Linked DNA regions of Homo sapiens: region 2 is linked to region 1. Evidence: promoter capture Hi-C in human tissues and cell types (Jung and others, 2019). All regions are on one chromosome and are shown on one strand. Each heading gives the region's core, a stretch centred on a gene start or on the middle of the fragment in contact. The rest is flanking DNA. Distances are from core to core; before and after follow the strand shown.

The links. The method cuts DNA at HindIII sites, captures the fragments that hold promoters and counts their contacts. A contact is called where the count stands out against the background at its distance.
Region 2: a fragment that was not itself captured here is called in contact with the fragment with the promoter of RORC in region 1 in 1 of the 25 tissues and cell types used here (lymphoblastoid cells).

The regions. Positions count from the first base shown.
Region 1 is chr1:151,829,444-151,834,831 of GRCh38, reverse strand. It overlaps RORC (RAR related orphan receptor C), which reads left to right and starts at 3,030. Exons shown (of 11, transcript NM_005060.4): 1 at 3,030-3,107; 2 at 5,374-5,388. The coding sequence starts at 3,068. RefSeq lists enhancers at 3,722-4,409, 5,096-5,388. The HindIII fragment of the contact is 16,173 bases long and covers 1-5,388 here.
Region 2 is chr1:151,318,025-151,323,412 of GRCh38, reverse strand. All of the region lies in intron 1 of PI4KB (phosphatidylinositol 4-kinase beta), which reads left to right. Among named protein-coding and RNA genes, the nearest start is that of PI4KB, 6.7 kb to the left of the region's middle. The HindIII fragment of the contact is 7,586 bases long and covers 1-5,388 here.

The DNA.
Region 1 (5,388 bases), core at 1,781-4,280:
GAGGTCAAGCCTGCAGTAAGCTGAGATCACGCCACTGCACTCCAGCCTGGGTGACAAAGTGAGACCTTGTCTCAAAAACAAAACAAAACAAAAAAATCCACTAGTTAGGACAGGTATTATTGCCCCATTTTTACTGATGTGGTAGCTGAGGGCTGAGATTTCCCTCAGGGCCTACAGCTAGTAAATGGCAGACCACATTCTTATAAGTGATTCTGCCCCAGCATTTAAACCCTTCTTGCCACCTCCAAGCCTGTGTGACTATAAATGTTAATTGGTAGAGGAGAGGTACAAGCAGGGTCACTGTGGAAAGTTCAAGGCCAGGAGCTAGGGTCAAACTCCCACTGTTCCTCCACCCACAGTGGCCTTTGTGACAAGAAGGGGGAGGGGTGGGGACTGTGAGATCTGGAGGCTACCGAAGGTTACAGAGCCTGGGCTGTCCTTTTTCAACGGTTGAGGCACAACCCATCCCTGAGTCACTCCAGTGGGTTGAGGCGTCCCCAGGCATGGAACCCCCTAGAACCCAAAGAAAAGTGGTCCCTAATCACTGGATCAGGCATCCCAAGGAGAGGGCCCTCCAAGGATGGGGCTGGGGAAGTGTGTGCCACCGCAGACTACCCAGGCTCCACATATTTTCCACCTTGACCCCCAGGCCCTCCCTGAAAGGGCAGATTTGTGCTGAGCTTTAAGTGGTTTCTGTGGTTTAGGGTTGGGGAAGGAAGGAAAGAGATGCTGGGGACTGCTCCCCAGTTCCAAGCCACCACCACCACCTCCCATCCCTTCCAGAGTGTTTGCCCCCAGCATGGAGATTTCCCCAATAAGGGGACTGGGCACGTGGGGATGAAATGATTCTCTGATCCCTATCAGCCCCTTCCTTATATAAGATTGTATTTGAAGAGGAAATAACCACCGCCCTGCTTTGAAAGGACGATTCTTCCAGATAAGGGGCTGTGATTGCAGCAAGAGGGAGAAAGTTTAGACAAGAGGGGGAACTTCCCATAAGGATAACCAAGGGATCTTCTTGCCCTGGGGAGAAAAAAAACTCAAACTATCCATGCTTAGGGCAGGGGAGAGGTAGAGAATGCCTAGGAAGCATGTGACACTCCTAGGCCTAGAGGTCAGGATACTGTCTTCTAAATCTCCAGTCACTTCCTCCCCACCCTACATAGTAGCACAAAGTGGCACAACTGGGGAGTCAGCTGTGCCTGCAGTGTCTGGGGATGCTCTGTGTCCATCCGCAAGCATTCTACGTGACCTCCACTCTGTGCCTGCAATTGGTGGGTTGTAGAAGAGGTAGTCACGAAGGGCCCCTGGGAGACCCAGAGTCAAGAGGAAGAGAGGCCTAAAAAGGAGAAAAGATAGAGAGGGGACAGCTGGAGAAGAGCCACAGACAGGCAGGAGCCAGCAAAGAGAGACAGAGAGATGGGGGATAACTGAGGAGTTCTGGGGAGGAGGGGAGCAGAACGGCATCTCCCCTGCACTCCCACGCCCGGCATGTTGCTGGCTCCTCCTGTCAGCTGGAGGGTGCTGGGGGGGCGGGGGGGAAGGGAGCTGCAAAGCACTTTACCTCTCACTCCAAACCTGCCCAAGGTGCAGAGCCCCCAAACAGACCAACATCCTGTTCTGTGCAGAGATGCATACATGGATGCGTGGGCCCACATTTACCAAAAGAACACGGGGGATAATCAGAGCCTCAGAGGCATAGGCACATACCCTTAGACTCAGTGCAGAAGGTCCCCAAAACTTCCCCTCCTCTTTCTCACTACTCATCCACTGTCAATGACCCTAGGAGTTGAAAAGTCCTTCTCCACTTCTACCTTTATCTCTCAATCTGCAGCCATGGGGAGACTCTGGGAGCTACCTAAGAACAGAGGTGCTGATGGTAGCAGAGTGTGAAGCTCCAGGGTTGGGCAGGAGTGGAGGATGGCGAGACGAGACGGCAGAAGAGGGAAGGGACAGCTGCTTGCCCTCTCCATGCCAGGTGCCACGTGCACCAGGTGGGGGGGAGTGGGCGAGTCACGAGGCTGTGGCATGGCTGACTCCTGCTCTGCTGTTTACCAGCTGGGAACGAGAGCAGGAGGAGGTGCCAGGGAGCCTCTTGCTGCAGCCTGGCCCCTGGCCAGTTGCTTGTTGGGTAACCAGGAGAGTCAGGCCCAGCTAATCAAACTCTGGGCCCAGGCCATGCAGGAGAAAAGCAGCACCAGGATCCCCAGAAGCCTCGTCCTCTTGGCCCCCTTCAGAGCCTTCACTGCAGGCCTCAGTGTGGGCCACTAGGTCTGGGAGCCTCTCCTTCTCCCAATGAGTCCAGTGCAGCATCTCTCCTCTCCTCTTCCCCACCATGGCTTCTCTGCCTCCAGGCACTCCTCCAGGCCTGCCCCTTGCCCCAACAGATGAGGAGCACGTAGAAGCATCAGGGGGTCAGGGAGTCCTGGCAAGAGCAGCAAGGGTTAGGGGCAGGGGCCGAGCAGGCAGAGGCCTCAGGGAACTGAACAGTCACTGGGAGGAGTCTGACTGCATCCTAGAGAAGAGACACAGTCCCCCAAACCTGCCCTCTCCATCTCCCCTATGCCTGTCACCTGTCTTAGGTAGAAATCACAGGATTCTAAAGTCACAAAGACTTGGGTCCAAATCATAGCTCACCCATTTATTGTTCTTGTGTGAGTCCTTGGGCAAAATCATTAATATCTCTGAGAATCCCTCCACTCACTGATCAATCTGGAATAATAATGTTTCCCTGTGGTGGGTGCTGTGAATATTTACACAAAGTAAAAGCATGGATTTACATAAAGTGTCCTGCAAAGGGCCCAGCACACAGTAAGTGATTAATAAATGCTAGTTCCCTTCCTTTCTCCTGTCCTGTTTCTCCTCAAGGCTCCATGCACTGGTCCACTGGTCTCTCCTCATGTCCCCTCCTGGTGCCAGGACACTCTGCCAGCCACTCCTTTTCCCTGCCTGCTGGAGGGCCAGGTGCTCCCGCCTTCCACCCTCCGCCCTCCTCCCTCCCCTGGGCCCTGCTCCCTGCCCTCCTGGGCAGCCAGGGCAGCCAGGACGGCACCAAGGGAGCTGCCCCATGGACAGGGCCCCACAGAGACAGCACCGAGCCTCACGGGGTAAGAGGCCCATGGCCCTGCCTGCAGGTGGAAGAGACTGCTGGAGGTTCAGAGGAGGGCAGAAATGGCAAGAGACTGGGCAAGAAGTGAGGAGGGGAGGGAGGGACAAGAGTGCAGAGGAGAAAGCCCTGGGTTGGCAGGGAGTGAAACTGGAGGAGAAACAGGAGGAGGGGCTGGGGAGATGACAGAGGAGAAGAAATCGCAAAAGGAGAGAAACAGGAAAGAAAGGGAGAAGCGGGAGAAGGAAGAAACAGGTTGGAGGGTAGATGGGGAGGGAAGAGCCAAGTCAGGGGAGCCAGATCTAGACCCAGCGAGGGGTCAGAATGTGGACAGGCCCTCCCAGGTGTGGGCTTACCCCCCAGGAGGCACAGGGACACTGCTTCCTTGATCTGGCCAGGACCCCAGACAGCAGTGGCCGGGAGGCTGGCTGCTCCACCTTCTGTTCATTCACCAGTGGAGAAACCTGTCCTTTAAGGAGTGACAGACTTGGGGAGTGTGGCAGGGGGAACCACACCCTGTCAGCTGCCCATGACCACGTAGCCTGGTCCTTTCCTCGCCACTCACCCAGGGATGTGGGATTTCATCTCTGCAGAGAATGTGGGGCACTGGGCCATCAGCAGGGAAGGACAGAATGTCAGGCCGTCCTTGGCCCCACCCATGGTCCAAGTCAGGAACCCCCTCAGAGCAGGATCGCAGGGCCACAGGCTTGGTCAGCTGTGAGCATGGAGGAGGAAAGTTTGAGGGCCAGAGCCACCAAGCTCCAGGGCCACCTGGTGGAGGAAGAACTGGCTGCCTGGGTGAGCAAGGGGAGCACCCCCACCACAGGACTGCTCTGAGGTGCAAGGCTAGAGGCCAGGAGCCGGTGCCACGTCAGGGAGGAAGCTGGGTGGGGCCAGGCAGGAGCAAGGGGAGGTGGGCGGGGCTGGGTGGGGCCTTGCCACCTCGGGGCAGTCTTTTCTCCTCCCTCACCCCAGCAGAGCCCAGGCCATCAGGCCACTCGCCTCCACACAGCCTAGTGACCACGGCCTGCCAGTGGGGAGCATCTCCCGGGCAGAAGGGCACTGTGTGTGTGTGTGTGTGTGTGTGTGTGTGTGTGTGTGTGTATGTCAGGTGTCAAGACTGAACAGCAGAAGGAAAAAAATAACAGAATAGAGTCAGAGGTTAGGGAAGCTATAGGGGGTATAGGGCATGGTTGAAGGGCTTTCTGAGACAAAAGACTGGCCATGTGTTCTGTGATGAGCTGCTATGTGGATGTAGGAAATGGGCCAAGGTCTGGCAGGGGAATCCTCTTTCCAGGGGCTCCCTGGCTAGGTGTTTCATAGATGTTAACTGCATGAATGGGTGACACCCCCCCACCCACCAACCATGCTCCAGCTAAGGCCCTCCCCTCAACGGCTGCTCCCCCTGGAGGTCCGAGTATCCATGTGACCCCCATCGACCCACTCATGCTCCCTACTGCCCAATCTCCACCCAGACCCGGCCACGCAGCAGCAGCAGAGAAGGGAGGCCTTCCTCTTCAGGCTGGTAGGCCAGGGAAGCCTGGCCCGTGGAAGCCAGAGAGGGGTCTGTATTTGCAACTCTCCCCTCCTCTTCCTCCAAACATCCTCTCCCCCTACTCCCAACCCCCACATCTCTGAAGCCCTGGTGTTTTCAGGCATAGATAAGCAACCAAGAGATTTCAGTCCCACAGAGATTTAACTCTGGCTGTAGGATATTTCTTGTGCACCTCCAATGAAATTACAAAGTAAATAAGACCAACACAGTCCCTGCCTTCACAGGGCTTTACAATTTGGCAGGAAAGACCCATTTCATAGACAATGACACAATTACAGCAGTTAGGTGACAGTTGGTGACATGGTGAGTGCCAGGAAATAAAATGCAAGGAGCTAAATGTGTCAGCACAAGGGCAGGGGAAGGGGGTGTGTGTGGCTTCTCCAAGGAAGAAACATAATCAGAGACCTGAGGGAGAAAGAGAAGTTGGCTAGATTAAGGGGTACAGGAGGGACAGGCATTCTAGGCAAAGGAGCAGCTTGGGGGAGTCCCAGAGGCAGTGAGGAGCCTGACACTTCTGGGTACCTGGAAGAGGGCCAGTGTGGCCCAAGGGCAGAGGAGGAGAGAGGGGCACTGCAGGGGGTGGCCTGCCTGCCCTTCAGACGCCAGGCTCTGAGGGAAGGAGTGCGGCAGTGGGATCCTAGGAGTGGGGAAAGTGTCTCAGCCCCTCATGATCTTCAACCTTTGACGTCAACCCCCTCTCTTGTCTTTACAGAGCTGCTGGCTGCAA
Region 2 (5,388 bases), core at 1,882-4,381, 510 kb after region 1:
GCCTCAGCCTCCCGAGTAGCTGAGATTACAGGCACCCGCCACCATGCCTGGCTAGTTTTTTATATTTTTTAGTAGAGACGGGGTTTCACCATGTTGGCCAGGCTGGTCACAAAGTGCTGACCTCAGGTGATCCACCCGCCTCAGCCTCCCAGAGTGCTGGGATTACAGGCATGAGCCACTGCACCTGGCCATTTGTTCCTCTATTTCTTTACTTATTGTTACAAACAAGGATTTAGCTTTAGAGGATATACCTCTCATTTATATAATTATGTCATTTTTATTTCTTCTACTGGACACCTGTATAACTTTAAATAATATTTAATATATTTGAACCTTTCTTTCTTTTCCATTAACTTTTGACAGTCTCTCTTAATTCACCTTGTAGAATGAACGTCAGATATTGGTTTCCTTACCCGTTTTTCCATCTCTTGTGGATCCATCTCAAAGGACTGTGAGATGTATAAAAAAAGGATAGAGGAGACTAGTTGTGGTGGCTCATGCTTTGTAATCTCAGCACTTTGGGAGGCCTAGGCGGGAGGGTAGCTTGAGGCCAGGAAGAAGCTTTCCTCCTTGGAAGCATCCCCAACCAGAAATCGTATAGTGAGCCATGATTCCACCACTGCACTCCAACCTGGGCAACAGAGTAAGAGCCTGTCTCTTAAGAAAGAAAAAGGAAAAAAATAAAAAGGCAAGGGGTGGGGAAATAAAGGATCCTTTAAAAGGAGGAAAATTGAGCCAGCCTGCCTGCTTGGAAGCAGGGCACTAGATCAGATGATCTCTTAAAGCCATTCTATGAAAATATAAGAACATAAAAATATCAGAATTGGTGCAAACCAATCCATATTTATCTAGTCCATGGAAAAAATTTTGAAAAAGAGAATGGTGATTAACTGGGTGAGGGGATTGATTTGGGGCTCTTTACCATTCTGTCCTAGCAGAGACTGATCCAATAAGTCCTTTAATGGAGGCCAGTAGAAAGTTGTTTGCCTGGAATCTTTTGAGGTGATAAGAAATGGGGAGCTAGGTTAAGCGATAGCATCTCCTCCCCAGAGAGTCCTCTGCAGACATGTATTTTAACTGCTCAGTCACACAGAACATATGTGTATATCTTCTGTGTCTTCTCCAGCTGCTGCTCTGTGTGACCTGTAACAATTCCTTGTCACTCAGACCAGAATTCCCTACTTTGCCCAGTTGGGAGCTGTGGAACTCAGTCAGTTGTCAACTTTTCCTAGGGGCCAGCTGTTAGGCTGTGGAACAGGGGAGGCCTCTTCCATTTCCCTTCCAGTCTGACTGGAAGGAGAATTTAGGTTCCCAGTGTGAAGTGTAGAGCCTCAGTTGTCTGAACCCCCTTGAAGGCCATAGGAGTCATTTAATATTAAAAATTTAGATTGTCTTCCGTCACTTTTTTCTTATTCCTCTGACTTAGAAGGGGAAGGCTGTTGAATACAGGACTTTTTCCTTCACCTTTTCTTTTGCTTTCCAGTCCTTTCATTTTCTTTAGAACAGTTACCCTCAAAGGCTTTTTTTTTTTTTTTTTTTTAAGACAGAGTCTCACTCTGTCGCCCAGGCTGGAGTGCAGTGGTGTGATCTCGGCTCACTGCAAGCTCCGCCTCCTGGGTTCATGCTATTCTCCTGCCTCAGCCTCCCAAGTGGCTGGGACTACAGGTGCCCACCACCATGCCCGGCTAATTTTTTGTATTTTTAGTAGAGACGGGGTTTCACTGTGTTAGCCAGGATGGTCTCCATCTCCTGACCTCGTGATCTGCCCTCCTCAGCCTCCCAAAGTGCTGGGATTACAGGCGTGAGCCACCATGCCCTGCCCACAAAGGCATATTTTCTTGGCATTCAAAACTAAATGAAGCAAGCTGGGCATGGTGGCGGGTGTCTGTAATCCCAGCTACTTGGGAGGCTGAGGCAGGAGAATCGCTTGAACCTGGGAGGCGGAGGTTGCGGTGAGCCAACATTGCGCCACTGCACTCCACTCCAGCCAGGGCAACAGAGCAAGACTCTGTCTCAAAAAAATAAATAAAATAAAAATAATAGTAATAATAAATAGCTAAAGCAATTTAACCCTATTCCCTACAACACCTTCTTCTCCATATGACTTGCTTCAGATGCAGGCAGTGCCTGGGTTCCTGAGAGGCCAGGGAAGAGACCCAGCTCCAGTTTGGTGGTTTCTAGTGGTAGAGCTGCTTATATAGGAGAGGAGTCTGTTTTTTCCTGCACCTCTCAACACTGTCTAGCTCCCTGAGGAGTAAAAGCTGCCGGGAGGGAGAGTCTGTTCAGTAGCAAAATCCTCTGAATACTGTGATGTGATTCTTAGCTGAGCCCTGGGAGTTTTTCTTTTGTCTGTGAGATAAAAGAGGTGATAGTATCCTTATTTGCCTTCCTGGTGCCAGTAATAATCCCAATCGTAGTTAATTGGGGCAGGCATCTGCTAAATTTTCTAGTGAGGTCTGAGACACTATTATGTGGGAGAATGTCTGAACTGTATTTCCCTTGAAAGTTTTGAAAAGTGTACTTCTAGGAGCTTTCAGTGACTTAAAAGTCTGTGGACTAGAGGGAGAGGAAAGGATGTACCAAACATAGAGACTGAGAAAAAGAAGTTGATTGTTTAAGATGATTGAGGCTATCACATGAGTTTCTAAGCAGACCTAAAAGGTAGTGGTCCCCGTTGAATCGGTGACCCTCTGATGAGAGTGCCCTACGAAGGTGTGGCAGGGAATGATTAAAGCTTCCTTCTTATTATTCCTGTGCAACTCACAGTTGCGAGTAGGGACAGATCCACATAGGCAGCCATGCTGGTTCTACTGCTCAGAGGGCACTACCTAATTTTGGGAGAGAGCATAGTGAAAGAGTTGCCACCTTCTTACCAATACCAAGCTCAATCTGCATCAGGGATATTAAATTCAGGAATGAACTTGCTTGGCAGAGTTGGCAGAAAGAAACAGAAATAGCCTTTTTTGGTGATCTCTGAGAACAGAAGAGTTCCCCATCCGTCTTTCTGCAAAACTTTAGTGGTGACTGCTGGGAGGCAGGGAGCTGGACTATATGATATTGGGCAGTTAAAAGTAACCTGGGGCCGGGCGCGGCAGCTCACACCTGTAATCCCAGCACTTTGGGAGGCCGAGGTGGGCAGATCACGAGGTCAGGAAATCGAGACCATCCTGGCTAACATGGTGAAACCCTGCCTCTACTAAAAATACAAAAAATTAGCCGGGCGTGGTGGCGGGCATCTGTAGTCCCAACTACTTGTGAGCCTGAGGCAGGAGAATGGCATGAACCCGGGAAGCGGAGCTTGCAGTGAGCCAAGATTGCACCACTGCACTCCAGCCTGGGCGACAGAGCGAGACTCCGTCTCAAAAAGAAAAAAAAAGTAACCTTAACATTTCAGACGTACAAGAACAGACACTGGAAGGGTGGTGGTGGAAAACAGCCTCCCAGAGGGACTAAAGAATCTCTAGGCCTCCTTATTCCACCTACCCAAAGTATATGCATCCAGGGTCACCGGGGTTGAAGGTGATGTCACTAATATTTTGAAATTACCTGTATTCCAACTCTACAAAATCTTTCCTCTTGCTCATGCTCTTGAGTGTGTCTTAGACTCACTCTATTAGCATTTTTGTGAAGAGGCCTCTGAGTCTGAGTCCTTTGTTAGCTATAGTCAGATTCTGGAGCCAGGTTGATCTGATGAAATTTCCCCAGTTCTGCACTGATTCCAGATTTGGTGAGGCTCTGAAGGATTGTTCTTGGAGAGCAGTGGCTTTGGTCAGCAGTGTTCTTTCATTGAACTTCCTTCCAACAGTCCCTCCAGAGGAGGTGTTCTTTGTTTTGTGACTCCTGTTCCTCCCTGTTCTTTGGAAGGCCTAGATCTATGAGTCCTAGTCTGATTTCTTTTTGCCTTTTCAATTGTCCCTCCAGTTGTTAGAATGTGTGTATGACAGTGGGGGGAGTGGTATTGGGGCAGAAAAGGCTGTCATAAGTATTTCTGGAAGATTCTCAAACAATTGGAACTCTTTGCTTCCCTTATAAAATAATATAAGTTTTATGTTACACACACACTGGTTAGTAACCTTTTAGGTGATGAGGATTCAACTAGCATTTCTTTTTTTTTTTTTTGAGACAGAGTCTCGCTGGTCTTGAACTGCTGACCTCAAAGTGATCCACCTGCCTCAGCCACCCAGTGCACTGGGATTACAGGCATGAGTCACTGTGCCCGGCCTCAACTAGCATATATTGAGTACTACTATGTATCAAAGACTGTGCTAGATTCTTTCATACACGTGATGGTATTTGTTCCACATAGCAACAATGAGAAGGAAGTGTTTTTTCCCAATTTGCAGTTGAGGATAAATGGCTTGCATAAGTTGCACATTTCTGAAAGGCTGAATGAGGATTTTCAACCCCAGCCTATTTGCCTTCAAGTCCAGAGCTCTTTCCATTATATGTTAGCAGCCACGGCACTGGAGAAAGAGGGTGTGATGTCATGATGTCAGACAACCAGAGAAACGGCACAGCTTCAGCAGGGTTGATGATGGTTGTTTTAGAGCTGCCTTCTTCTAAGTGAAGCCTGGCATGGTATTTACTGGCCTTTATTTTCTGGGAACTTCGAGTTTAAAAGGGAAGGTAAAAAAATACCTGTAACCAGAAAAATATATCAAGACTTTAATTTTATTTATTTATTTATTTATTTATTTATTTGAGACAGAGTTTCGCTCTGTTGCCCAGGCTGGAGTGCAGCGGTGCGATCTCGGCTCACCACAACCTCTGCCTCCCGGGTTCAAGCGATTCTCCTGCCTCAGCCTCCCAAGTAGCTGGGATTACAGGCATGCGCCACCACGCCCAGCTAATTTTGTATTTTTAGTAGAGACGAGGTTTCTCCATGTTGGTCAGGCTGGTCTCGAACTCCTGACCTCAGGTAATCCGCCTGCCTCAGCCTCCCAAAGTGCTGGGATTACAGGCGTGAGCCACCGCGCCCGGCCTTTTTTTTTTTTTTTGAGACAGAGTCTCACTCTGTCTCCAGGCTGGAGTGCAATGGCGTAATCTCGGCTCACTGCAACCTCCACCTCCCAGGTTCAAGCAATTCTCCGGCCTCAGCCTCCTGAGTAGCTGGGATTACAGGCGCCTGCCACCACGCCTGGCTAATTTTTGTATTTTTAGTAGAGACGGGGTTTCACCATGTTGGCCAGGATGGTCTCGATCTCTTGACCTCGTGATCTGCCCACCTCGGCCTCCCAAAGTGCTGGGATTACAGGCGTGAGCCACTGCGCCTAGCCAAGACTTTAATATTAAATAAAGATGGCTGGGCAAGGTGGTTCACACCTGTAATCCTAGTGCTTTGGGAGGCTGAGGCAGGAGAATTGCTTGAGGCCAGGCGTTCAAAGCTAG